Regions from separate parts of the Homo sapiens genome. Here regions 1, 3, 4, 5 and 6 are each linked to region 2. Evidence: promoter capture Hi-C in human tissues and cell types (Jung and others, 2019). All regions are on one chromosome and are shown on one strand. The core of a region is centred on a gene start or on the middle of the fragment in contact, and the rest is flanking DNA. Distances in the headings are between cores, read along the strand shown.

Region 1 (3,723 bases), core at 331-2,830, 330 kb after region 2:
TCTCCTGACTTCACACTGATGTATTTTGAGAAACTCGTGAAAGGAGGCGAGAAAAAGGGTGGGGAGGGGCTGGAAAATTGGAAAAAGAAGGGGTGAGGTTATCTCAGCTTCCCCTCCACCACCAACCTCCGTCACTGCACCATCCTCCTGCCCACCTCCCCCCACTTCTGTCCAGCCTTATTCTTGTCTCTCATGTTACTAGAGGGTGGGGTAACTTTGGAGCTAAGAGGTGATCTGCAGCAAGCAAGACTGATGTTAGACTTAGCAAAGGACCCCCATGGCCTAGCGAGGTGGACTGAAGCTCAGCGAAACACAGGGTCAGGGCTGTGGGCCAAGGGGACAGGGCCTGAGGGCACGGCGGCAGGGGCATGGTGCTGATGAGGCCATCTCCTTCGTGCACTGTGGCCAGATATATTTTTAGGCTTTTCCGCAGCTGAGTAATTTATCTGACTTAGAGCCAAAGCTGGGGTTGGGGGTGAGAGCCTGTGGGGAGGTGTCCAGATTATCCTGAGGGACACTCGGTTCACTGGGGTCATCAACCTGGTTGGGAGGGAGTCCCTGTCAGCCCCAGCCTGTATCCTTTGGGAAGGCTGTCCTACCCCAGGAGCCGAAATTTTTGGCCTCTAACTCCTTTCTCTCCCAGGGACCCAGGGTGCTGTGACTTCTTCCACCCAGCCTCACCCCCTCAAGGACAACGGGCTATGAGCCCCAATCCGCTTTAGCTGCAGATTAAACTCCATGCCAGACAGAAACGGAAAAAGACACAGAGAGACGGAGAGACCCATGGTGGGAGAATTAAAACACAGAGACGGGGACAGGGACCCAGAGAAGTGGGGACCAGAGATCCAGGGAAGAGGAGAGACCCAGAAAGAGGGGGACAGAGACTCTGAGTCAGGAGTTGATAGAGATCCAGTGAGAGCAATGGCCAGAGAACCAGAGAGAGGGGCACAGAGACGCAAAGAAGCGGAGGCAGAGATCTAGGGAGAAGGAGGGGCCCAGAGAGAAGGGAGCCGAGATCTGGAAAAAGAGGGAGACGGAGACCCAGAGAGAAAAGGGGCAGAGACATCCAGAAAGAGACGGGGACAGAGACCCAGAAGTGGTGGGGGAGGAGCCAGAGACCCGGGAGAGAGGCATTTACAGCACCAGAGAGAGTGGAGCCGGGTGGGGTGGGGTGCAGAAAAAGGAACAGGATAATGGACAAGGCTCGACCAGGGAGAACAGCGCCGTCGGAGCCCACGGCAGAAAACTGGACAGATGGGTGGACCCCCATGCCGGGGTATCGCCCGTTCATCTGTCAGTCTGCGCCCAGGTGGGAATTAGCATCCTCCTCAGATCCTCCCACTCTTCTCCCGGGACCCCCGCCAGGCTCACCGGTGCAGCTTCCCGAGAGCACGACCCGCTAGCTTCCGAAACTCCTCCTGGCGGAACTCCATGGTGGCGGCTCCTGCCGCCGGTCACCCCGCGGGTCCCCCCCGCCGATCCCCCCGCCCGCGGGCCCGGGCGGCCGCGTCCGGGTTCCCGGGGTCCAGCCCCGGCCCGGCCGGCCCCGCAGCTCCGCTCGGGGGGAAGGAGGCTGCAAGTGCAGGCGGCCCGGGGGCTGTCACAGGACTCAGCGCCGGGGGCGGGGCGCGGGAGGCCCCGCCCCGGCCCCACCAGGCCCCTCCCCTCGTCTGTCAGACCCGCCCCCTCTCGCAGCCCTTTCATCCTCGTCCTGTCCCCTCCTGAGCCTTCCAAGACCACGCCTGTGGGTTCTGAACTCACGCCTCCGAGTTCACGCCCCCCAATTCTGTTCCTTCCCCAGGCTACTCCCCCTATCCCTGTTCCATCACCCCTGGCTCCTACCCAGATTTTCTCTCCTCTCCTGAGTTCTCATCCCCATCATTTCTCTCCCCGACTTCTGTTCCCCCTAATTGCGTCCCTTACAATCCTGTCTTCTCTGACTTTCCCTCTGCGTTCATCCTCCAGTTCCTTCACTCCTCCCCGCCCCCACCCCGCAATTCCATCCCCATCCCACCTCGTCCCCAGTTCCAATAGTCTCATCCAGGGAGTTCTTTGTTTTCTCATTCAAGGGAAATTCTTTCCCCTCAAGTCCAACGCCTACTTCGATCCACCTGTCGTCCCCCTCTAGTCCCTTTCGCCACCCGGGTTCTTCACCCTTGAGCTCCATCTCCTCCTTAGTTTCCATCTTTCCCCTTTGAATCCCATACTCCTCCAGCTCTATTCTCCCTCCGGCGTCTCTCTCCTCCCTGTTGCTTCTCTCCCTGAGTTTCATTCCCTAACCCCGATTTTCTTCCCTCTGGCTTCCGCCCCCCACAGTTATATTTCACACACCCCGCCAGTGCCAGCTGCGACCCCATAGTCTCCCCATTGTGTTATTTCTCTGCTCCTCTGGGATCTGTCCGCGCTCTGAGTTCTTCCCTAGCTCCGGGGGATCCATTCCTCTATTTGAGTTCTGTCTCCACCCCCTGAGATCTGTCCCGCCCCCTAAATTGTGATCCGCACCCCCTGGCATCCTCACCCGCCCTCTGAATTTGTCTCCTCCCCTAGGATCTGTCGCTGACCTGAGTTCTGCCCCCGCCCTCTGAGTTCTCTCCCCACCGTTGGAGTTGTGTCCCCTTCTCCTAGGATCTGTCCCTGGCTCTGTTCCCGCCCTCTCAGTTCTGTCCTTGCCCCCTGGAATCTGTTCCTGCCATCTGAGTTCTACCCCTTCCCCACAGGATCTATCTCTGCCCCCTGGAATCTGTCCCCACCCACCGAGTTCTGGCCTCCGTCCCTGGGATCTGTCCCCGCCCTCTGTGTTCTACCCCTGCCCCATGGGATCTGTCCCCGCCCACCCAGTTCTCCCCGCCCCCTGGATCTCTCCCTACCCTCCCAGTCTTGCCCCGGCCCCATGGGATCTGTCCCCGCCCTCCGACTTCTGACCCTCGCCACTGGGATCTGTCCTCGACCTCCCAGTCCTGCCTCCGCCCCCGGAATCTGACCCCGCCCACCGAGCTCTGGCCTCCGCCCCTGAGATCTGTCCCCGCCCTCCCAGTCTTGCCCCTGCCCCATGGGATCTGTCCCCCGCCCACCGCCTCCGCCTCTGGGATCTGTCCCTGCCCTCCCAGTCCTGCTCCCACCCCCGGAATCTGTCCCCGCCCACCGAACTCTGTCTCCACGCCGGAATTCCAGCGCCGCCCCGTTGGGTAGAGCCCGGCCCTTCCCTGTCCTGGGCCCGCAGACAGGGTCCCGCCCCGCTCCTGTCCTCAGACCAGCCCATCTCCCGGCGCTGAGTCCACCTCCAGATCCAGGCCCCAGGAGGGTGATCCTTTCCCCACTACCTCCCCGCGTCGGGCCGCAAATGCATTTGGTATTAAATTTTCATGATGCGGCCCGCGGTGGGGTGGGAGGAGCAGACGGCGCGTCGGGCGGGCGCCAAGGACGGGGTGGCCGGGAAGCCACTGACCGCCGCAGCCTCTCGCTTCCAGCCTTGACTGGCTGTGTCTCTGGGTCTCACAGCTTTGAGAAACCCCTGGGACCCCAGAACGGAGGACGCTGCGGGTCTGAGGCAGGAGGGAGGTAGGAACTGGGACTCGTGGGGCTGAAGTAGCAGCGCGGGAGCCGCTCACACGCGCCACCCAGTGGCTGCAGAGTCCCCGGCCCGGGTGCGGAGGCGGTGGTTGCGGCTTGGGGCCAGGTGTGAGGGTGGAGCAGATGGTGAAGAGGAGGGAGTGGGAAGCGGGC
Region 2 (3,938 bases), core at 723-3,222:
CCCCCCAAAGTGCTGGGATTCCAGGCGTGAGCCACCATGCCCAGCCACACTTCTTTTTAAAAACACTCGCAGCCAGACACAGCGGTTCGTGCCTGTAAACTCAGCACTTTGGGAGGCCAAGGCAGGGGGATTGTTTGAGCCCAGGAGTTCAAGACCAGCCTGAGCAACAAAGACCCCTCCATCTAAAACAAACAAAAAAAGAAGATAAAATTTAAAAACCCCTCTTCTCATGGTTTCTCCCACCTGGGTTTCTGCCTACATTTCAGGCCATTCTCTGCTGTCCTCCTGACTTTTAAGTGTTAGAGAGGTCTGGGGACCAGTTCTAGGCCGTCTTAATATTCGCTTGCCCCTGACATTCTTATCCACTCCGGTGGTTTTATTTACCACCTATGCCCCAATATTCAAACATGCCTGCAGACCAGGTTGCTCTTTTGAGCCCTAGACCTAGATCGATAGTTTCTCCCCATGGATTCTGCATAGGCTCCTCAAATTCAAAATATCCAGTATCGGCCAGGCAAGGTGGCTCGCGCCTGTAATCCCAGCACTTTGGGAGGCTGAGGCAGGTGGATCACTTGAGGTCAGGAGTTCGAGACCAGCCTGGCCATCATGGTGAAACCCCATCTCTATGAAAAATACAAAAATTTGGCAGGTGTGGAGGTGCACACCTGTACTCTCAGCTACTCAGGAGGCTGAGGCAGGAGAATTGCTTGCACCCGGGAGGCAGAGGTTGCAATGAGCCGAGATCACGCCACTGCACTCGAGACTGGGCAACAGAGGGAAGACTGTGTCTCAAAAACAAAATATCCAGTATCCCTCTTTCAGTGTAGACCATCTTAAAAATGGCACCAAAGCACCTTAATACTGTCTTCTCCTGCACCTCCCAATCCCCTTATATAGCCAAGCACCAAGGCTTGTCTAGACATTTCCCACATCTGCCCACCCATCTTCTGTGCTTTGGCCCTGGTGCTAGCTGCCACCTGGATGGCTGTGGTAGCCTCGTAAGTTGCCCCGCTGCTTCTCCTCTTGTTCTTGTCCAAACCAGTCTCCACAGTGGCTACAGTGATTTTTTTTTTTTCAATAGATACGAGGTCTCACTATATTGCCTATGCTGGTCTTGAACTCCTGGGCTCAAGTAGTCTTGCTGCAGCCTCCCAAAGCGCTAGGATTACAGGTGTGAGCCACCGTGCCCGGCCCCAGTGATCTTAAAATACAAATTTGAGGCCCAACCTGGGCGACAGAGCGAGGCTCCGTCTCAAAAATAATAATAATAATAATATAATAATAATACAAATTTGAGTGTCATATTTTTCTCTTAGGAGTTTGCATGAAGCCCCAAATCCTCAAGGCGCATATGCCAACGCAGGAGCCCAGGCATAAACTATCCTGCCGACCTTTTCACCTCATCATCAACCAATCCTAACTCTGCTTCCAGCCACGTGGGCTCTTTCTGGGTGGTGGGGGTGACCCAAGCTCCACCTCTTGTTCATCTTACCTCCCAGGACTGTATGTCAATGTCCCTCCTCTAGGATTTCCTTCGTTTTCTAGATCATCACCTCCCCACTCTCAGCTCTCATCACAGCCGTAGTTGGTCGTCTACCTCCCCTATAGACTGGAAGCTTCGTTCGGGCCGTGGGCTTGGCTGTCCTGCTCACCACGGTGTCCATGACTTGGGCTCAGATGTTTCACAAGAGTTTGTTGAATGAATGTGGGGAAAGGATGGACAGGGGATAGACGGGTGTGGAGGGCAGGCAGACACGGATCCTGAAAGGTACACACAGACCGAACCTGCAGTGGGAGGGGTCGCCAACAGGACCGACTGGCCGGGGCGGAGGGCAGGGCGCGGCTGGCGCGCGGCAGGTGGTCGGAGCAGTCGGGCGAGGGAGAGCTGGGCGCTCTCCAGGCTGCGCCTCCGCAGGGGGCGCCCGTGGCCCGGGGCGTGGCCTCGCGCAGCCCCGCCCTCCTCGCCGGCGCCAGGGCAGGCGGGCGGCTGGCAGCTGTGGCGCCGACATGGCTGCGCTGGTGGAGCCGCTGGGGCTGGAGCGGGGTAAGCGTGCGCCAGGGGGCCCTGCCCACCCGGGCCGCGGCCTACATACCCAGCCCCCGGTCCCCGCCCTTCCCGGGTCAGGCCAGTGCGGGTGGGCCAGCGGACCCGGAGGGGGTGGGCGGGGCGGGCGCCGGGGCCGGGCGGTCGCTAGGTGTGGGAGGCTCCCTGGGCGCGGGCCGGGACGCTGGGCGCCCGCCTTACAACCCGGCCTGTGGAGGGGTCCCGGGGCCGCAGGGCCGCTGGTGGCAGTCTCTCCTGCGCCACCCTGGACTCTGCGGGGTGTCCGACTAGGCTTCGGCCGTCCTCCCCGGACTGTGCGCTCGGCCTCACTCCGCCGCTCTCCTTGCTTCTCTGCGTCTCGGGGTCTCTGACACTCGGGGTTTCTGCGCCCCGCCCCCGCCCCGCAGACGTGTCCCGGGCGGTTGAGCTCCTCGAGCGGCTCCAGCGCAGCGGGGAGCTGCCGCCGCAGAAGCTGCAGGCCCTCCAGCGAGTTCTGCAGAGCCGCTTCTGCTCCGCTATCCGAGAGGTGAGGGGCGCGCGGCGCAGGGGCGCGAGCTGGTGGCCGTCGTCCTCCTCCTCCTCCTCCTGCTTGTCCCGAGCCCGGAGACTACGCCTCCCGGCAGCTCCCGAGGCGGCCCGCCTTGGGGTGCCAACGCTTCAGCTCAGGGGTTCTTCGGGAGTTGTAGTTTTCTCGGCCTTCTGTTGCGGGGGCGGGGCGGATCCTTGCGTGGTAGCGGGAGAGGGTCTAGAGGCCTGAACTCCTGCGTCTAGGGCTGGAGGAGCTGGCGACTCCCTGATGCCGCTGCCTCCTCACCCAGGTGTATGAGCAGCTTTATGACACGCTGGACATCACCGGCAGCGCCGAGATCCGAGCCCATGCCACAGCCAAGGTGGGCCCCGCACCCCATTGCTCCTGGTGTCTATTTAACTGCCTAGTCGAACTCAATATCTCCTTCATGCCAGTCATTTCTGTTTCCTCCCTCATGATTTTTGCTAAATCTATGTGCCACCTTACTATTAGTAAATAATCGCACATTTTTAACTTAAATGTCATACTAAGGCATCTTTAGCAACTGCAAATGGAAACAGTATGGCATGGTTGGTAGAAGATAACCTTCAACATCTGTACAGTGCAAACCAGGAAACTCATGGCGCTCTGACCTCTCACTGCACAATAGTTAGATGCTGCTACCTCTTGCTGCTGTCCGGAGGCTCAGATCTCCCTCCAGGCCTGGCTTTCCTCTGTTTAAAAGTAAGATTGAGGCCAGGCACGGTGGCTCACGCCTGTAATCCCAACACTTTGGGAGGCCGAGGCAGGTGGATCAGTTGAGGTCAGGAGTTCGAGACCAGCCTGGCCAACATGGTGAAACCCCGTCTCCACAGAAATACAAAAAAAAAAAAAAAGAAAGAAAAAGCCGAGCGTGGTGGCGAGTGCCTGTAATCCCAGCTGGATTACAACTCCGGAGGCTGAGACAGGAGAATCGCTTGAACCCAGGAGGCCGAGGTTGCAGTGAGCCGAGATCATGCCATTGCACTCCAGCCTGGGCAACAGAGTGAGACTTCATCTCAAAAAAAAAAAAAAAGTAAGATTGGCAAGTATGGGGTATTCAAGACACACACCAAATGGACACTTTCTCTTGCAAGTGAACAGAAAGAGACGCACAGTCATTACAGGGGGATCGTGCATTGTGCCATGACAAGTGTCCCATGCTTGGGGATAGTAACCCAGGCTAAATCGCTGTCCTCGGTCCACATCCCCCACCCCAGCTTTCATGCCTACCTGGAAGGGGCCCTCATCTTCAGTCGCTTTCTCTCTCCCAGGCCACAGTGGCTGCCTTCACAGCCAGCGAGGGCCACGCACATCCCAGGGTAGTGGAGCTACCCAAGACGGATG
Region 3 (3,960 bases), core at 1,155-3,654, 310 kb after region 2:
CAGATAGTTTTGAGGAATGCAGTCTTTCCTTTGTTATTCGGAAGGACAGAGGAAACAGTCCCGCCCCCACAGTCCAAGGGCCAATTAGGGCTCGGTCCGCCTCCCGAAAATGCAAATTTTGGGACGCCTTGCCAAACACGCGCGGCGGCCCCGCTTCCCGCGCAGCAGACGCGGCCGGCTCCACTCTCTTCTTTAAACCAATGAGAGCGCGGTCCGCACGAACGGCGCCCCAGGCGCGCTGATCTAGCCCTCTGCGGACCACCGGGTTGCCATGGTTACCACGAGGGGCGGAGCTGAAGGGCAGGCTGGACCTCCGGGGAGAGAGACAGATTTCGATTGGCTCTTTTCTCGCTTCACCTGCAGCCCAGGTATCTTCCCGCCCTTTCCCTGTCCTTTTTGGAGCCTGACGCCTGCTCCTTTCTCTTCTCCTGCCCCAGCCTGGCGCCCCGAAGGTCTCTAGAGAAGGAGACCCGAAGTCAGAAAACCCTGAAAAAAATTGCTGGACGCTGCTGTGAGAAGAGGAAACCCTTTTCAAATAAAAGCGTTTTGCTACGTAACGGGCGCTGTACTGAAGTCTTATGAAGTATATCTTATTGGATCCTCGTAACAGATGAAGAAAAGGAGACACAGAGACTGACGTCAAGAAGGCTTTCTCAGTACTACGCAGCTAGATTTGGAGGACCCTGGGTTTGGATGCTAGGGCTGCCTCACACCAGAGCCCGCGATCTTTCCACTGTGCCTGGGGAGAAGTCTGGAAGTGATGGGAGGGAGGAACAGCGAAATTCAAAGATGAGAGCTGATGGAGAGACAGATAGAAACCTAACGGAGGAAAGAAAAGGAAGATATGAAGGAGTCAGGCAGAGGAAAAAGGAAAAAAGAAAGTGATGGAGAAGGGAAGGAAGAGTTTCAGAGGCAGAAGGAGAATAGAGAGAGGAGGCAGAGATTCCCAGAAGACCAGAAAGCCAAAAGGGTGAAAGGGGAGATAACCACAAGGACCCAGGGAGACGGGGACACATACCCAGAGAGGAAAGAGACCCAGAGAAAGGGACAGAGACGGAGGAGGACAGAGACCTTGGAGATTACAGAGAACCAGAGAGAAGGGGACAGAGATGGGGGTAGGGAGGGACAGGGGCCCAGAATGAAAGGAGGGGGCGGGGGGGTGGGGGCGATAGGGAAGCAGAGATCCAGAAATAGGAAAGAAGCCAGCTTCCTGGACAAAGACAGGCAGAGAGAAACGGAATTGAGGAAAGAAAATAGAGTGGGGACTGAGGAGAGAGATGCCAGAGTGGCCGACACAGAGTCCTGTCTCTTTTCTACCCCCCATTTCAAGCCCCGCGCCCCCAACCCAACGCACACGCAGGTCGCGCAGGAACTAGGCGCAGTCCGGAGCGCAGGGCATGGTCTTTATTAAGATGGGGACGGGCAGCGCGCTCAGGGCGCATCCAACACCAGCAGCTTGTGCATGTACGAGTTCAGCCAGTGGCGGCGCTCGAGGGCGGCCAGCAACCGCGCGCGCTCCCGGAAGGCCGCGTCGTCCGCCAGCGCCAGGCTCCTCCGCGGCCTGGGGGTGGCGGGATCCGCCCAGGCCCGTCCTGGGGGGCGGAGGCTGTGGAGAGACGCGGTGACCGCGCGTCCAGACTCGCTCTTGCCGCCGCCTGTCCTCCCCGCGGTCTAACTCGAAGCCCCGTTACTGCCCAGTCCGTGGAGTGGCTCGGTCCGGCTCCCCCTGTCTCTCTCGTTCTCTGTGTGGGTCTCTGTCTCTCTGCTCACCAGGTTCGAAACTCCCCAGGTACTGAGACCGAGTCTGATGCACTTGTCCGCCCACAGCGCTCAGCGCATGGCCAGGCGCACACCAAGAACCCAATAAACGTTGCTCAAAGAATGAATCCGTTTCTGCAACGACTCCTTTCGAGCCTCTCCACGCCTTTCTCGGGATCTATCTTTCTGTGTCTCTTTCCCTTGCTGATTTTCTGTCCATTTCCCGCACCACCACTACCACCAAACCCTCCTCCCGCCTTCCCCCACCCCTAGTCTCTGTCTTCTCGCTGGGTCTCGGTCGCCCTCTCTTTGGGCTTCTGTTCCGCTTTCTGGATCTTCCGTCCCCTTTCTCTTTGGTTCTCTTCCCACTTCTCCAAGTTCCCACCCCTCCCTGGGAGTTCTGGGACTGGCACCTACCTGAGGACCCCGACCGGGGGCAGGGCGACTCCCGAGGCAGTGCGGACGCCCCAGGGCACCACCAGCAGCAGCAGCAGCAGCAGCAGCAGCCGAACCCGAGGGCTCCTGGACACCTGGCGGGTCTCCATCACCTGTGGAGAACCAGAAAGGGGCTCAGTAGGGCTGCATCCCGGCCCAGAACCCCGGGCCCCACCATGCATCCACCCCCAGCTTCCCGCACAGTCCCCTACCGTGCAGTGGGCTGGGGCAGCGATGGTGGCAGCCCCCTTATATCGCCTCCGCAGCCCCCGCACCGGGCAGTGACGCAGGCCGGGGGGCCGGGGACGCGGGGTCACCCCCTCCCCAGGCTCATTAGGAGCCGCCAGCGGTAATGAGGAGCCGGGGGTGGGGGACCTGCCGCTGCCTTGGCCGCCACCAACTAATTGGGACCAGAAGCTGGACCTGAGACGAGGGAGGGGGAGAGACAGACAGACAGAGAGGTGGACACAGGGGGTGTGTCAGAGGGCTAAAAATAGAGACTGGCGGAAGGACCGTCAGAGGAACAGAGACACAAAGAGAAGGACAAAGACAGAGTGGCCGAGGAAGAAATAGAGAGAAAGAATGGGAACGACAGAAAAAGAAAGGAAAAGGAAGAAAACAAGAAAAGAGAGCGAAGGAGATGGAAACGAACAGTCAGATGGAGATGGAGGAGGGAAAGAAAAGGCTCTCAGAAAGACAGACGGAAATGGAAGGACGTCCTGGTCTGGAAGGAGCTGCCCAGAGATAAATACAGCAGCGAGAGGCCCAGAAAGATCGAGGGTGAGGTAGGGAGGGGGGAAAGGCAAGAAATGGCAAAGGGTACGTGTGGCAGGGGTGTGAGGACAGGAAAAGTGACAGACCACATCAGAAAAACCTCAGAGAGTGAGAAGAGGGGAAAACAGACAGGGCTCCTGAGCTGCCCTAAGGATGTGTCTAAGCCCTTATCTGGGAGGAGTTTGGGGGTGCTGTGAAGATTAAAGCCCAGTCCTCCTCACACTGACTCTTTTTGTGTGTGTGTGTTTGTCTGTTTGAGATGGAGTCTTGCTCTTGTTGCCCAGGCTGGAGTGCAATGGCACTATCTCGGCTCACTGCAACCTCCACCTCCCAGGTTCAAGCCATTGTCCTGCCTCAGCCTCCCGAGTAGCTGGGATTACAGGTGCCCACCATCACGCCCAGCTAATTTTTGTATTTTTAGTAGAGATAGGGTTTCGCCAAACTGTTGGCCAGGCTGGTCTTGAACTCCTGACCTTGTGATCTGCCCTCCTTGGCCTCCCAGAGTGTTGGGATTACAGGCGTGAGCCAGCACACCCAGTCCACACTGACTCTTAAGAGGGGCCTCAGCCGGGTGCTGTGGCTCATGCCTGTAATCCCAGCACTTTGGAAGGCCGTGGTGGGTGGATCACTTGAGGTCAGGAGTTCGAGACCAGACTGGCCAACATGGCGAAACTCCTTCTCTACAAAAATACATAAATTAGGTGTGGTGTAATCCCAGCTACTTGGGAGGCTGAGGCAGGAAAATCGCTTGAACCTGGGAGAGGGAGGTTGCAGTGAGCTGAGATCGCACCACTGCACTCCAGCCTGGGCAACAGAGTGAGACTCTGTCTCAAAAAAAAAAAAAAATTTAAAAAGAGGGGCCTTTATACACAGTGAGGAGAAGATGGGCAAAACTTGGAAGTCCTACAGAGCAGTAGAAACTTGGGATGTGGGAACTTGGGCTCCTAGTTTCCTAGGAAGGTGGTGGCAGAAGCTTGGACTCCTGAGTCTAAG
Region 4 (4,109 bases), core at 998-3,497, 350 kb before region 2:
TGCAGTGAGCCAAGATCATGCCACTGCACTTCAGCCTGGGCGACAGAGCGAGCCCGTCTCTCTCTCTGTCTATATATATATATACACACACACACAATAAATAAATAGGTTGGCTCTTTGCTGTTTCCCCACAGTACTGTATTCAATATATAACCACTCAGCACAGCCACCTCTCCAATGTTCAGGAGCAAACTCTTATCTCCTTGGTTCTTGCCCCCACCATTATCAGAACCTTCCCTCTGTTTTACTCTCTGAGCGCCTGCCAAGATCAGTTTGGGTTTTGTTTCTCTATTAGTTTTCACCCGTGTGGAGCTTCGTCCTTCCAAGAGGGAGGTTCTACTGAGTGAGCACTTCCCAGATCCCTGGGGAGCCAGGCTATTTAGCATCTTTCAGCTTCTCCACCGCACCCTATCCTCACCTACTCACTGGAGCCCCTAGAGATTTGACTACTGTTCTTGTTTTCTTTTCTTTTTTTGGGGGGGTGGGGGAGGGGGACAGGGTCACTGTCGCCCAGGCTGGAGTGCAGTGGCATGATTTTGGCTCACTGCAACCTCTGCCTCCCAGGTTCAAGCAATTCTCCTGCCTCAGCCTCCTAAGTAGCTGGGATTACAGGTGCCCCCACCTCGTTAATTTTGGGGGGTTTTTGTTTTGCTTTTTTTTGAGAGAGAATCTCGCTCTGTTGCCCGGGCTGGAGTGCAGTGGGCTCACTGGAACCTCTGCCTCCCGGGTTCAAGAGATTCTCATGCTTCAGCCTCCCAAGTAGCTGGGACTTCAGGTTTGCGCCACCATGCCCAGCTAATTTTTGCATTTTTAGTAGAGACAGGGTTTCGCCATGTTGGCCAGGCTGCTCTCCAACTCCTGACCTCAAGTGAACTGCCTGCCTTGGCCTCCCAAAGTGCTGGGATTACAAGCGTGAGCCACTGCACCTGGCCCTGGCTAGTTCTTTTAACTTTTACTTTGGTACAGACAGGGTCATGTTGGCCAGGCTGGTCTTGAACTCCTGGGCTCAAGCAATCCTCCCACCTCGGCCTCTCAAAGTGCTGGGGTTATAGGTGTGAGCTACCACGCTTGGCTCTTTGTCTTAATTTCCCTCTTCCTATAAGGACACCAATCATATAGGACTTAGCGCACACCCCAACCCGGTATAACCTCACCTGAACTTGATTTCATCTACAAAGGCCGTATTTCCAAGTAAGGACACATTCAGCGGTACCAGGTAGACATGAAGCTTCCAGGACGCTATTTCCCCAATGCACACCTCTACACGGAGTTAGTCACACTCCTCTTCTTCTTCTTTTTTTTTTTTTTTTTAAGACAGTTTCTCTCTTGTTGCCCAGGCTGGAGTGCAATGGCATGATTTCGGCTCACTGCAACCTCTGCCTCTCGGGTTCAAGCAATTCTCCTGCCTCAGCCTCCCAAGTAGCTGGGATTACAGGCATGTGCCACCACATCTGGCTAATTTTGTATTTTTAGTAGAGACAGGGTTTCTCCATGTTGGTCAGGCTGGTCTCGAACTCCTGACCTCAGGTGATACGCCTGCCTTGGCCTCCCACAGTGCTGGGATTACAGGCGTAAGCCACCGCACCTGGCCTCACACTCCTCTTCTTTTTCTCTCATTTAAGTGAGCCGTACCCTTAGGAGGAAGTTGCACAGTTGACATTAGGGTGGGCCAGGATAGCTTTCTGAGCCTTAAAAATCTTAAAAGTTTTGCCGGTCACAGTGGCTCACGCCTGTAATCCCAGCACTTTGGGAGGCCAAGGTGAGCGAATCCCCTGAGGTCAGGAGTTCCAGACCAGTCTGCCCAACAAGGTGAAACCCTGTCTCTACTAAAATTACAAACATTAGCTGGGCGTGGTGGTGCACACCTGCGGTCCCAGTTACTTGGGAGGTTGAGGCACAGGAATCTCTTATTTATTTTTTATTTTTTATTTTTTTTGAGATGGAGTCTCGCTCTGTCGCCCAGGCTGGAGTGCAGTGGAGCGATCTCGGCTCACTGCAAGCTCCACTTCCCGCGTTCACGCCATTCTTCTGCCTCAGCCTCCCGGGTAGCTGGGACTACAGTCACCCACCACCACGCCCAGCTAATTTTGTTTTTGTATTTTTAGTAGAGACGGGGTTTCATCATGTTAGCCAGGATGGTCTCGTTCTCCTGACTTCATGATCCGCCTGCCTCGGCCTCCCAAAGTGCTGAGGCACAGGAATCTCTTGAACCCAGGAGGCAGAGGCTGCAGTGAGCTGAGATCACGCCACTGCACTCCAACCTGGGCAACAGAGCAAGACTCCATCTCAAAACAAAACAAAAAAACTATCTGGGCATGGTGGTGGGCACCTGTAATCCCAGCTACTCGGGAGGCTGAGGCAGGAGAATCGCTTGAACCCAGGAGGCGGAGGTTGCAGTGAGCCAAGATCACACCACTGCACTCCAGCCTGGGTGACAGAGCGAGCCCCTGTCTCAAAAAATTAAATATATAAATAACAAATAAATAAATAGGCTGACTCTTTGCTGTTTCCCCACAGTATTGTATGCAATATATAACCACTCAGCACAGCCACCTCTCCAACGTTCAGGAGCAAACTCTATCTCCTTGGTTCTTGCCCCCACCATTATCAGAACCTTCCCTCTGCTTTACTCTCTGAGCGCCTGCCAAGATCAGTTTGGGTTTTGTTTCTCTATTAGTTTTCACCAGTGTGGAGCTTCGTCCTTCCAAGAGGGAGGTTCTACTGAGTGAGCACTTCCCAGATCCCTGGGGAGCCAGGCTATTTAGCATCTTTCAGCTTCTCCACCACACCCTATCCTCACCTACTCACTGGAGCCCCTAGAGATTTGACTACTGTTCTTGTTTTCTTTTCTTTTTTTTTCGGAGGGGTGGAGGGGGACAGGGTCACTGTCGCCCAGGCTGGAGTGCAGTGGCACAATCTCAGCTCTCTGCAACCTCTGCCTCCCAGGTTCAAGCAATTCTCCTGCCTCAGCCTCCTAAGTGGCTCAGATTACAGGTGCCTCCACCTGGCTAATTTTTTGGAGGTTTTTTGTTTTTGTTTTTGTTTTTTTTGTTTTTTTTTTTTGTTTTTTTTTGAGAGAAAGAATCTCGCTCTGTTGCCCGGGCTGGAGTGCAGTGGGCTCACTGGAACCTCCGCCTCCCGGGTTCAAGAGATTCTCGTGCTTCAGCCTCCCAAGTAGCTGGGACTTCAGGTTTGCGCTACCATGCCCGGCTAATTTTTGTATTTTTAGTAGAGACAGGGTTTCACCATGTTGGCCAGGCGGCTCTCAGAACTCCTGACCTCAAGTGATCTGCCCGCCTCGGCCACCCAAAGTGTTGGATTACAAGCGTAAGCCATTGCACCTGGCCGAAAACCAATCTGTATCATAACCCCACGGCACCTGAATCATTTCTAAGTGTACAGTTAAGTCGCGTTAAGTATATTCACATTGTTGCACAACCAATCTTCAGAATTTTTTCATCTGATAAAATTGAAACTCTCTGCCGCAATTAAATCCCACTTCCCCAATTCTCCTCCCTTCAGCTCCTGGCCACTTTTTCCAGCCCCATTTGTTGAAAACATGGTGGTGAGCTCCTTGAATGACTGAGAAGCTTTTGTACATGGACAGGAAAATTCACAACAATTTGTTTTTTTGTTAATGATCAATGAATTTTTAAACAATTATCTTTCCTTTAAACATTCACAGACTACTTCTACAGCTAAAAATAACAAGCCACAAATTTCACAATTGTAGATTTCGCCTAAATATTTGAACAGTGATTGCACATTTAATCAGTGAACTTTTCACAAATCTGATATTGTGGTTTCCCTTAAATGCCATGAATAGGAGAAAAACAGTAATACACTCTGTCATACTTTTCACAAGTCTGATATACCAGATTCTTACAAATGCTTTAAATATTTTCGAGAAGGCTGGGCAAGGTGGCTTACACCTGTAATCTCAGCACTTTGAGAGGCCAAGGTAGAAGGATCACCTGAGCCCAGGAGTTCTAAACCAGACTGGGCAACATAGCAAAAGCCCATCTCTACCAAAAAAAAAAAAAAAAAAATTAGCCAAGTGTGGTGAAGCGCACCTGTAGTCCCAGCTAGTTAAGAGGCTGAGGTGGGAG
Region 5 (3,649 bases), core at 238-2,737, 480 kb before region 2:
TAGGTACCCAAGGGTCTGCCTTTCTAGGGCCCTGGTTGCTAAGGAGATTGGGCCCCTAGCAACAGTAAAGGCATGAGATAGACCCCCCACCCTCAAGCAACTCGCTTCAAGTCTCCACTCTGCAAAGCGGACCCCAGCCCTCCCCACATGATAAAGGCCTGCATGCAGTTAGCTCTTGCTTGCTAAGGATGCTTGTTCCCTAGCAACAAGGCCTTCATGGTCTGAGGGCTTCTCCCAATGAAGAGCACTGCCCTGCCCTGCACATTGCCTTTCCAGATCCTGGTTGCTAAGGAAAGCTTGGTGCCCTGGTGATGGGGTTTGGTGTCCCATAAAATCCTCGCAGAGCTGGGGCCTTCTGACCTGGTTGCCAAGGCAACCTCATCCATCCTTGGCAAACAAAAGTGAGGTCTAAGTGGTTTCAATGACTGTGGCCAGCCTCTGACCTGCTGGCCTTGAACTGAGGCCAGAGAATAGCCTCCTCCCCAGTAGGACCTGACTGAGAGAAGAGCTGTCTCTTAGGAAAGGGGACTATCCTGAGACCTCCCCAGAGGATTATACCTAAAGTCCTCCCATCCTGGAAGTTGGTTCCTAAGGAAGACTCCTCCTTAGTAACCAAGGACCACGGGGCTCAGAAAGATGCTCTCTACTCCACTATTTAATTAAAGCCCAGTTCCTGCTTGTGAGGGTAAATCCAGTCCCTAGCAACAGGGCCCTCTAGAAGGAGAAACCACTGGTGTAGATCTGACTTCCAGGCCAGTCCTAGGTGCTTCAAGTAGCTATGTGTTACGCAAGGGTATGGCAAAGTCTTGTTTGTTTTTGAGATGGAGTCTCGCTCTGTCGTTCAGGCTGGAATGCAGTGGCATGATCTCGGCTCATTGCAACCTCCACCTCCCAGGTTCAAGCGATTCTCCTGCCTCAGCCTCCCAAGTAGCTGGGATTATAGGTGCCCGCTACCATGTCCGGCTAATTTTTGTTCTTTTTTTTTTTTTTTGAGATGGAGTTCTCACTCTGTCGCCCAGGCTGGAGTGCAGTGGCGCGATCTCGGCTCACTGCAACCTCCGTCTCCTGGGTTCAAGCGATTTTCCTACATTAGCCTCCCAAGTAGCTGGGACTACAGATGAGTGCCACCATGCCCAGCTAATTTTTGTATTTTTTTGTAGAGACGGGGTTTCACCATGTTGGCCAGGATGGTCTCCTGATCTCGTGATCTGTCCGCCTCGGCCTCCCAAAGTGCTGTGATTACAGGTGTGAGACACCACACCCGGAACATTTTTGTACTTTTAGTAGAGGCGAGGTTTCACCATGTTGGCCAGGCTGGTCTCAAACTCCTGACCTCAAGTGATCCGCCCACCTCAGCCTCCTAAAGTGCTAGGATTACAGGCGTGAGCCAACGCGCCTGGCCCGGAATGACAAAGTCTTGTAACAGAAGCCCAAGCAACTCTTGCTAGGGAAGACTCCAGTAATGGCAAAAAACAAAATCATGCAAAGATGCAATGACTGCTCAAATCACCCCAAATCAGAAAGTGGCACTGGCTGCTAACAGAAGCCTGAAGTCTCCCACCAGTGAGAAGTCCAGGCCCAGGAAACAAGGCCTAAAGGGGCTGGCACAGTCTTCATCCTAGCCAAATGCAATCACTCCAAAGGAAGTCCCACATCAGAGATCAAAGGCCTGCTGAGTAAGGAGAGACAGGCCACAGGCTGATATCCCATTGCCAAAGGAAGACTGTCCTTTGCAAGTGTGCCTGGTGGAGCTCTGGACCCAAGTAATAGGAGAAGCTCCAAGTCTCTACAAGTAGACCTAGCAGAGCTGGCTGAGTCAGCACCCCACAGTGACACTGTCTTTTGTTTTAAGACAAGGTCTCCCTCTGTTGCCCAGGCTGGAGTGCAGTGGTGTAATCTTGGCTCACTGCAGCCTCAATCTCCCAGGCACAAGCAGTCCTCCCACCTCAGCCTCCCAAGTGGCTTGTAGAAATGGGGTTTTGCCATGTTGCCCAGGCTGGTCTTGAACTCCCGAGCTCAAGAGATCCTCCTGCCTCAGCCCCCTAAAATGCTGGGATTACACGAGTGAGGCCCCTCGCCCAGTTGACACTGTCTTTATAAACCTCAGGCCCCTGCCCCCTTGTGCCCCGTGGCCAAGGAGGACTAATCTGTGGCTGCAGGCCAGGAGAGGCTGAGCACTAATCCCAAGGAGAAGCCCAGGCTTGACTGTGAGAAAAGGCCCCTCCCTGGCTGTGGGGCATGTCTCCAGCCAAGTCTATCTCCCACATCCAGCTCTGCTCACCTTCTGCTCCTCCGGCACCTGGATTTTTCTTGCCTTCTTCATGATTGGCTGGGGCTTAAGTTCCTCTTCTGAGAAGCGATGTCTTCGAGGGTCAAAGGTCTCGTGGCCAGGAATGCTTGATAGGGCAAGATCAGCTGGGTCGGGTTCAAAGGTCATCAACACCTCCACGGTGTCTGGGTCCACAGGGCTGGGTGTGTCCCGAGAGGTCAGGCCTTGGGGAAACAGCACGTGTCAGCTGAGTGTGTATTTTAAGGAGGGGGTTTCCTGAAGCTACTTTTTGCTGTGGTATCATAGCCACATGGAAAGTCCTTCTGGGATCTAGCATAAATTCGGCCAGGGATTAATCTCCCTAATATAAAATATGAAGGTTCCCTTGGCCAGGCGCAGTGGCTCACGCCTGTAACCCCAGCAGTTTGGGAAGCCGAGGCGGCGAATCACCTTTAGTCAGGAGTTCAAGACCAGCATGGCCAACATGGAGAAACCTCATCTTTACTAAAAGTACGAAAATTGCCCAGGTGTAGTGGCGGGTGCCGGTAAGCCCAGCTACTAGGGAGGCTGAGGCTGGAGAATTGCTTGAACCCGGACCCTGGAGGTGGAGGTTGCAGTGAGCTGAGATCATACCACTGCACTCCAGCCCGGACAACAGAGCGAGACTCCGTCTCCAAAATAACGAGAAAAATGAAGGTTCCCCTAAGCCATAAAGATGCTTAGAGATCATGGAGCCATATCCACCTTTACAAACAAGGAAACTGAGTCCCAGTCATAACTGACTTGCCCTAGGTAACACACGAATCAGGGCTATTGCTTCTACACTTGATCTTAGCCAAAAGGCCGAGAAGCGATGGGGCTATTGCTTCTAAAACCTCAGGACTTCAGATGCACAGTCTAGCCTGAATCCTACTTACCGAATCCACGACCTAAGCTTAGACCCCAGACTGTCCAGAGAAAAAGAATCTACTGCACTGAAAAGCTCTCAAGTTAGAGTCTAAGAGCTACTCGCTGGAAAGAGGAGGAGAAGCTGCTCTAAGGTTCCAGAAGATTGGTTCGAAAGGAGGCGCCTGTACCTTTAAGCACCAGCCAGCCGGGGCCAGCTAAGGACACAGGTTCAGGGCCGAGTCACGTGCTGACGCCTGCTTCCCTCCTCCTCCCTTCCTCCCAGGCCCCCGCCATCGGCGCCCTCACGTTCCCCCGGCCCCGCCCCCCTCGCGCTTGAAGGCGCCTGCGCGAAGCGCGGAGGAGGGATGGGAGGACTCACGTGGCGCAGGAATGTGCCGCTGGGAAGGGTAGGGCCCTGGTTCGGCCCGGAGGTCGGACCTGGAGCAGGTGTGCCCAGGAATCCCCGACCTGCAGTCCGTCCCTGGAGACCTC
Region 6 (3,609 bases), core at 244-2,743, 270 kb after region 2:
AGAAGATGTGGCTATTATCTCTCTCTCCTGTCTCCCCTAAATTCTCAGAGGTCATATAACTTAGTTTCAGCTTGCTGACATGGAACTGTAACATGAGTGACTCCACTGGTCTCTTGGGCCTAGTGCAGGAGCTCGGTCCAAACCAATGGCTTCCTGTAAAATTTATTTAACAAGGCAAATCTACAGAGACAGAAAGCAGATTCATGGTTATGTGGGGCTTCACGGAAAGGAAGGTTGAGTTAGGAATAATGGCTAAGAGATGTAGGGCTTTGTTTTGGAGTGATGAAAATGTTCTAAAATTAATTGTGATGATTGTAGAACTCTGTGAGTACACTGAAAACCACTGAATTATACACTTTAAATGGGTAAATTATGTGGTGTGTGGATGATAACTCAATAAAGCTGTTAAAACAATTAGTTAATTAATAATTCTATTAAACAGTTTACCCTGAACAACTCAGGGCTTAGGGGACTAACCCCCTGTGAGGTAAAAAATCTGAAGATCAATTTTGACTCCCCAAAAACTTAATGACTAATAGCATGCTATTGACCAGAAGCTTTACATAAACAGTAGATGAACACATATATTTTATGATATATGTTTTTGGGGATTTTTTTTTTTTTTGATACAGGATCTTGCCCTGTCACCCAGGGTGGAGTGCAGTGGCACAATCATAGCTCACTCCAGGCTCGACCCCCCTGGTTCAAGCGATCCCCCCTCCTCAGCCTCCCAGGTAGGCAGGACCACAGATAAGGCTCTCACAACCACACCTGGCTAATTTTTGTATTTTTAGTAGAGATGAGGGTTTCACCATGTTACCCAGGGGTGTCTCCAATTCCTAGGCTCAAGCGATCAGCCCACCTTGGCCTCCCAAAGTTCTGGGTTTACAGGCGTGAGCCACCATGCCTGGCTGTGTTATATGTATTATATACTATATTCAAACAATAAAGTGAGCTAGAGAAAAGAAAATGTTATTAAGGAAATCAGAGGAAGTTAGGAGAGGGTTAAAAAAAATAAAATCGCCGGGCACGGTGGCTCATGCCTGTAACCCCAGCACTTTTAGAGGCTGAGGCGGGAGGACCACCTGAGGTCAGGACTTTGAGACCAGCCTGACCAACATAGTGAAACCCCATCTCCACTAAAAATACAAAAGTTAGCTGGGCATGGTGGTGCATGCCTGTAATCCCAGCTACGTGGGATTGTTCAAGGATGAACTGTATAAGTCACAATGGATCTGCTTCTCTGAGCAAACCCTAAAGGATAAAGCATTATTCAGCTTGTTGCAGTCTGCCAATCTAAAAAGGGTAGTTTCCTGTTGCTTTAATTGGAATGTTTCTGGTTACTGATCTTTTGAGCTCCTTATCACATATTTGTTAGTTTTTTGGATTTCCCCTTCTGTAAATTGCCTGCTTTTCTGTAAATTCTTGGTCATTTTTTTCTGTTGGGTTGTTATCTTTTTCTTTTTGATTTGTAGGAGTTCCTTCAATCACCTACCTTTTAATCCCTTGTCAATTTTATTTTTTTATTTTATTTATTAATTTTTTTTGAGACGGAGTCTCACTCTGTCGCCCAGGCTGGAGTGTAGTGGTGCGATCTCAGCTCACCACAACCTCCACCTCCCAGATTCAAGCTATTCTCCTGCCTCAGCATCCCAAGTAGTTGGGATTATAGGCATGCTCCATCACATCTGGCTAATTTTTGTATTTTTAGTACAAAAATACAAAATCTCTTGGCCAGGCCGGTCTCAAACTCCTGACCTCAGGTGATCTGCCTGCCTTGGCCTCCCAAAGTGCTGGGATTACAGGCATGAGCCACCACGCCCAGCCCCTGGTCAATTTTAGACAATGCAAATATCTTCCGCTCGTCCATCATCTCATCTCTCATGATCTTGGCCCTTGGGATCCTTGATGAATAGAAACCCTTAATACTGATGTAATCAAATTAATTTTTTTGACTTATGATTCATCCTTTTGAGATCCCTAAAAGAAGTCATTAATACTTTCCTACATTTTCTTTTATTAACTTTATAGTTTTACCTTTTGCATTTAGTGCTTTACTAGCAGCTGGTCTCCACTTTACATTATTATGTTATAGAGGAGGAGGGGCCTGAAAGCCTCTCAGTGCTCAAGATCTTTGAAGACTTAACTGGGCATTAGCTCAATTAGAGAGGAAGAAAGCAGTAGAGGATGGGGATGGACCACTATCTCCTGGGCCTCGCTTCCCCCAAGAAAATCCATGGACCCACCCACAACCACTACATCTCAGACTATTTCAGCATCTTCCTCCCAGTGGCTTCACACACCTGGGTGAGACCCCCAACATCTACTCAGTTACCAGGTCTGGTATTCCCTGATATCATCCTGATTTTTTGACTGGAAAAAAAGTGTTAATTCATAAGACTTTGGGTTTTTTTGGGGGGGCAGGGGCAGGCGATGGAGTCTCACTTTGTCACCCAGGCTGGAGTGTAGTGGTGTGATCTCAGCTCACTGCAACCTCTGCCTCCTGGGCTCAGGTGATCCTCCCACCTCAGCCTCCTGAGTAGCTGGGACCACAAGCATATGCCACCATGCCCGGTTAATTTTTATAAATTTTTTTTGTAGAAAGGTGGTTTCTCCATGTTACCCAGGCTGGTCTTGAGCTCCTGGGCTCAAGCGATCTGCCTGCCTCAGCTTCCCAAAGTCCTGGGATTACAGGCATGAACCAATGTGCCCAGACCCCCAACACTATTCTAAGCAGTGGGGATTAAGCAGTGAATAAACAATGCCCCAGCATCATGGGATTTGGTGGGGGAGAGAAACAATAAATATGTATCAAGCAATGGCAAATGCTGTGAAGAATAAAGCAACATGAGGCAGAAAGGAAACTCTGAGGGGACCGAGCTCATCTTAGATAGGGTAGTCTCTCTGATATATACACAGAGGGAGGCACTCTGATATATACACAGAGACTGAACTGGGGTAATGGAGCAAATCCGGTCCATGGTAAATCTGGAGAAAGAGACTTTCAGGCTGAGGGAATAGCAAGTGCAAAGGTCCTGAGGTTGGAAATGGCTTGGCTTGATCAAAAACAAGGAGGCCAAGGTGGACAGAGCAGTTATTGATGGAGATAAATAGGGGATAAGATCACAAAAGTAGACGTAGGGTACAGGAGAGCAGACCATGCAGGGTCTTTGGAGCGTAGTGAGGAGTTTTTATGTTATTCTATTTAAAATGGGAAGTGAGCTAAGTGTTACAATTAAAGAAGTAACATATATGTATTTACTGATCAAAAAGATTATCCGGACTTTTGCTTGTCACTATGATGGAGTAGCTAGTAGCTGACTAACTCCCCACCAAAAACTATAAAAGCTGAATACAAGCTAGGCATGATGGTTCACACCTGTAATCCCAACACTTTGGAAGGCTGAGGCAGGTGGATCACCTGAGGTCAGGAGTTCAAGACCAGTCTGGCCAATATGGTGAAACCTTGTCTCTACTAAAAATACAAAAATTAGTTGGGCATGGTGGCAGGCACCTGTAATCCCAGCTACTCGGGAGACTGAGGCATAAGAGTCATTTGAACACGGGAGATGGGGTTTCACCATATTAGCAAGGCTGATCTTGAACTCC

Evidence for each region. The method cuts DNA at HindIII sites, captures the fragments that hold promoters and counts their contacts. A contact is called where the count stands out against the background at its distance.
Region 1: the fragment with the promoter of SLC17A7 here is called in contact with the fragment with the promoter of LIN7B in region 2 in 4 of the 25 tissues and cell types used here (dorsolateral prefrontal cortex, lymphoblastoid cells, small bowel and 1 more).
Region 3: the fragment with the promoter of PTH2 here is called in contact with the fragment with the promoter of LIN7B in region 2 in 2 of the 25 tissues and cell types used here (IMR-90 fibroblasts and lymphoblastoid cells).
Region 4: a fragment that was not itself captured here is called in contact with the fragment with the promoter of LIN7B in region 2 in 2 of the 25 tissues and cell types used here (heart left ventricle and lymphoblastoid cells).
Region 5: a contact is called between a fragment that was not itself captured here and the fragment with the promoter of LIN7B in region 2, in 1 of the 25 tissues and cell types used here (lymphoblastoid cells).
Region 6: a fragment that was not itself captured here is called in contact with the fragment with the promoter of LIN7B in region 2 in 5 of the 25 tissues and cell types used here (dorsolateral prefrontal cortex, hippocampus, liver and 2 more).

What each region holds. Positions count from the first base shown.
Region 1 is chr19:49,439,947-49,443,669 of GRCh38, forward strand. SLC17A7 (solute carrier family 17 member 7) reads right to left here and starts at 1,581. Exons shown (of 12, transcript NM_020309.4): 1 at 1,372-1,581. The coding sequence starts at 1,433. The HindIII fragment of the contact is 22,755 bases long and covers 1-3,723 here.
Region 2 is chr19:49,112,398-49,116,335 of GRCh38, forward strand. It overlaps LIN7B (lin-7 cell polarity scaffold B), which reads left to right and starts at 1,973. Exons shown (of 6, transcript NM_022165.3): 1 at 1,973-2,044; 2 at 2,452-2,570; 3 at 2,863-2,934; 4 at 3,866-3,938. The coding sequence starts at 2,008. RefSeq lists a silencer at 1,793-2,372. The HindIII fragment of the contact is 18,984 bases long and covers 1-3,938 here.
Region 3 is chr19:49,421,037-49,424,996 of GRCh38, forward strand. PTH2 (parathyroid hormone 2) reads right to left here and starts at 2,405. Exons shown (of 2, transcript NM_178449.4): 1 at 2,176-2,405; 2 at 1,383-1,606. The coding sequence starts at 2,303. The coding sequence ends at 1,432. It also overlaps a transcript of GFY not described here. RefSeq lists a silencer at 2,521-2,724. The HindIII fragment of the contact is 12,103 bases long and covers 1-3,960 here.
Region 4 is chr19:48,765,765-48,769,873 of GRCh38, forward strand. No RefSeq gene overlaps it. Among named protein-coding and RNA genes, the nearest start is that of FGF21, 12 kb to the left of the region's middle. The HindIII fragment of the contact is 4,374 bases long and covers 61-4,109 here.
Region 5 is chr19:48,631,163-48,634,811 of GRCh38, forward strand. DBP (D-box binding PAR bZIP transcription factor) reads right to left here. Exons shown (of 4, transcript NM_001352.5): 3 at 2,282-2,493. Among named protein-coding and RNA genes, the nearest start is that of DBP, 4.4 kb to the right of the region's middle. RefSeq lists a silencer at 3,389-3,568. The HindIII fragment of the contact is 4,057 bases long and covers 1-3,516 here.
Region 6 is chr19:49,378,607-49,382,215 of GRCh38, forward strand. All of the region lies in intron 2 of LOC101928295 (a long non-coding RNA gene), which reads right to left. Among named protein-coding and RNA genes, the nearest start is that of KASH5, 7.8 kb to the right of the region's middle. The HindIII fragment of the contact is 6,743 bases long and covers 1-3,609 here.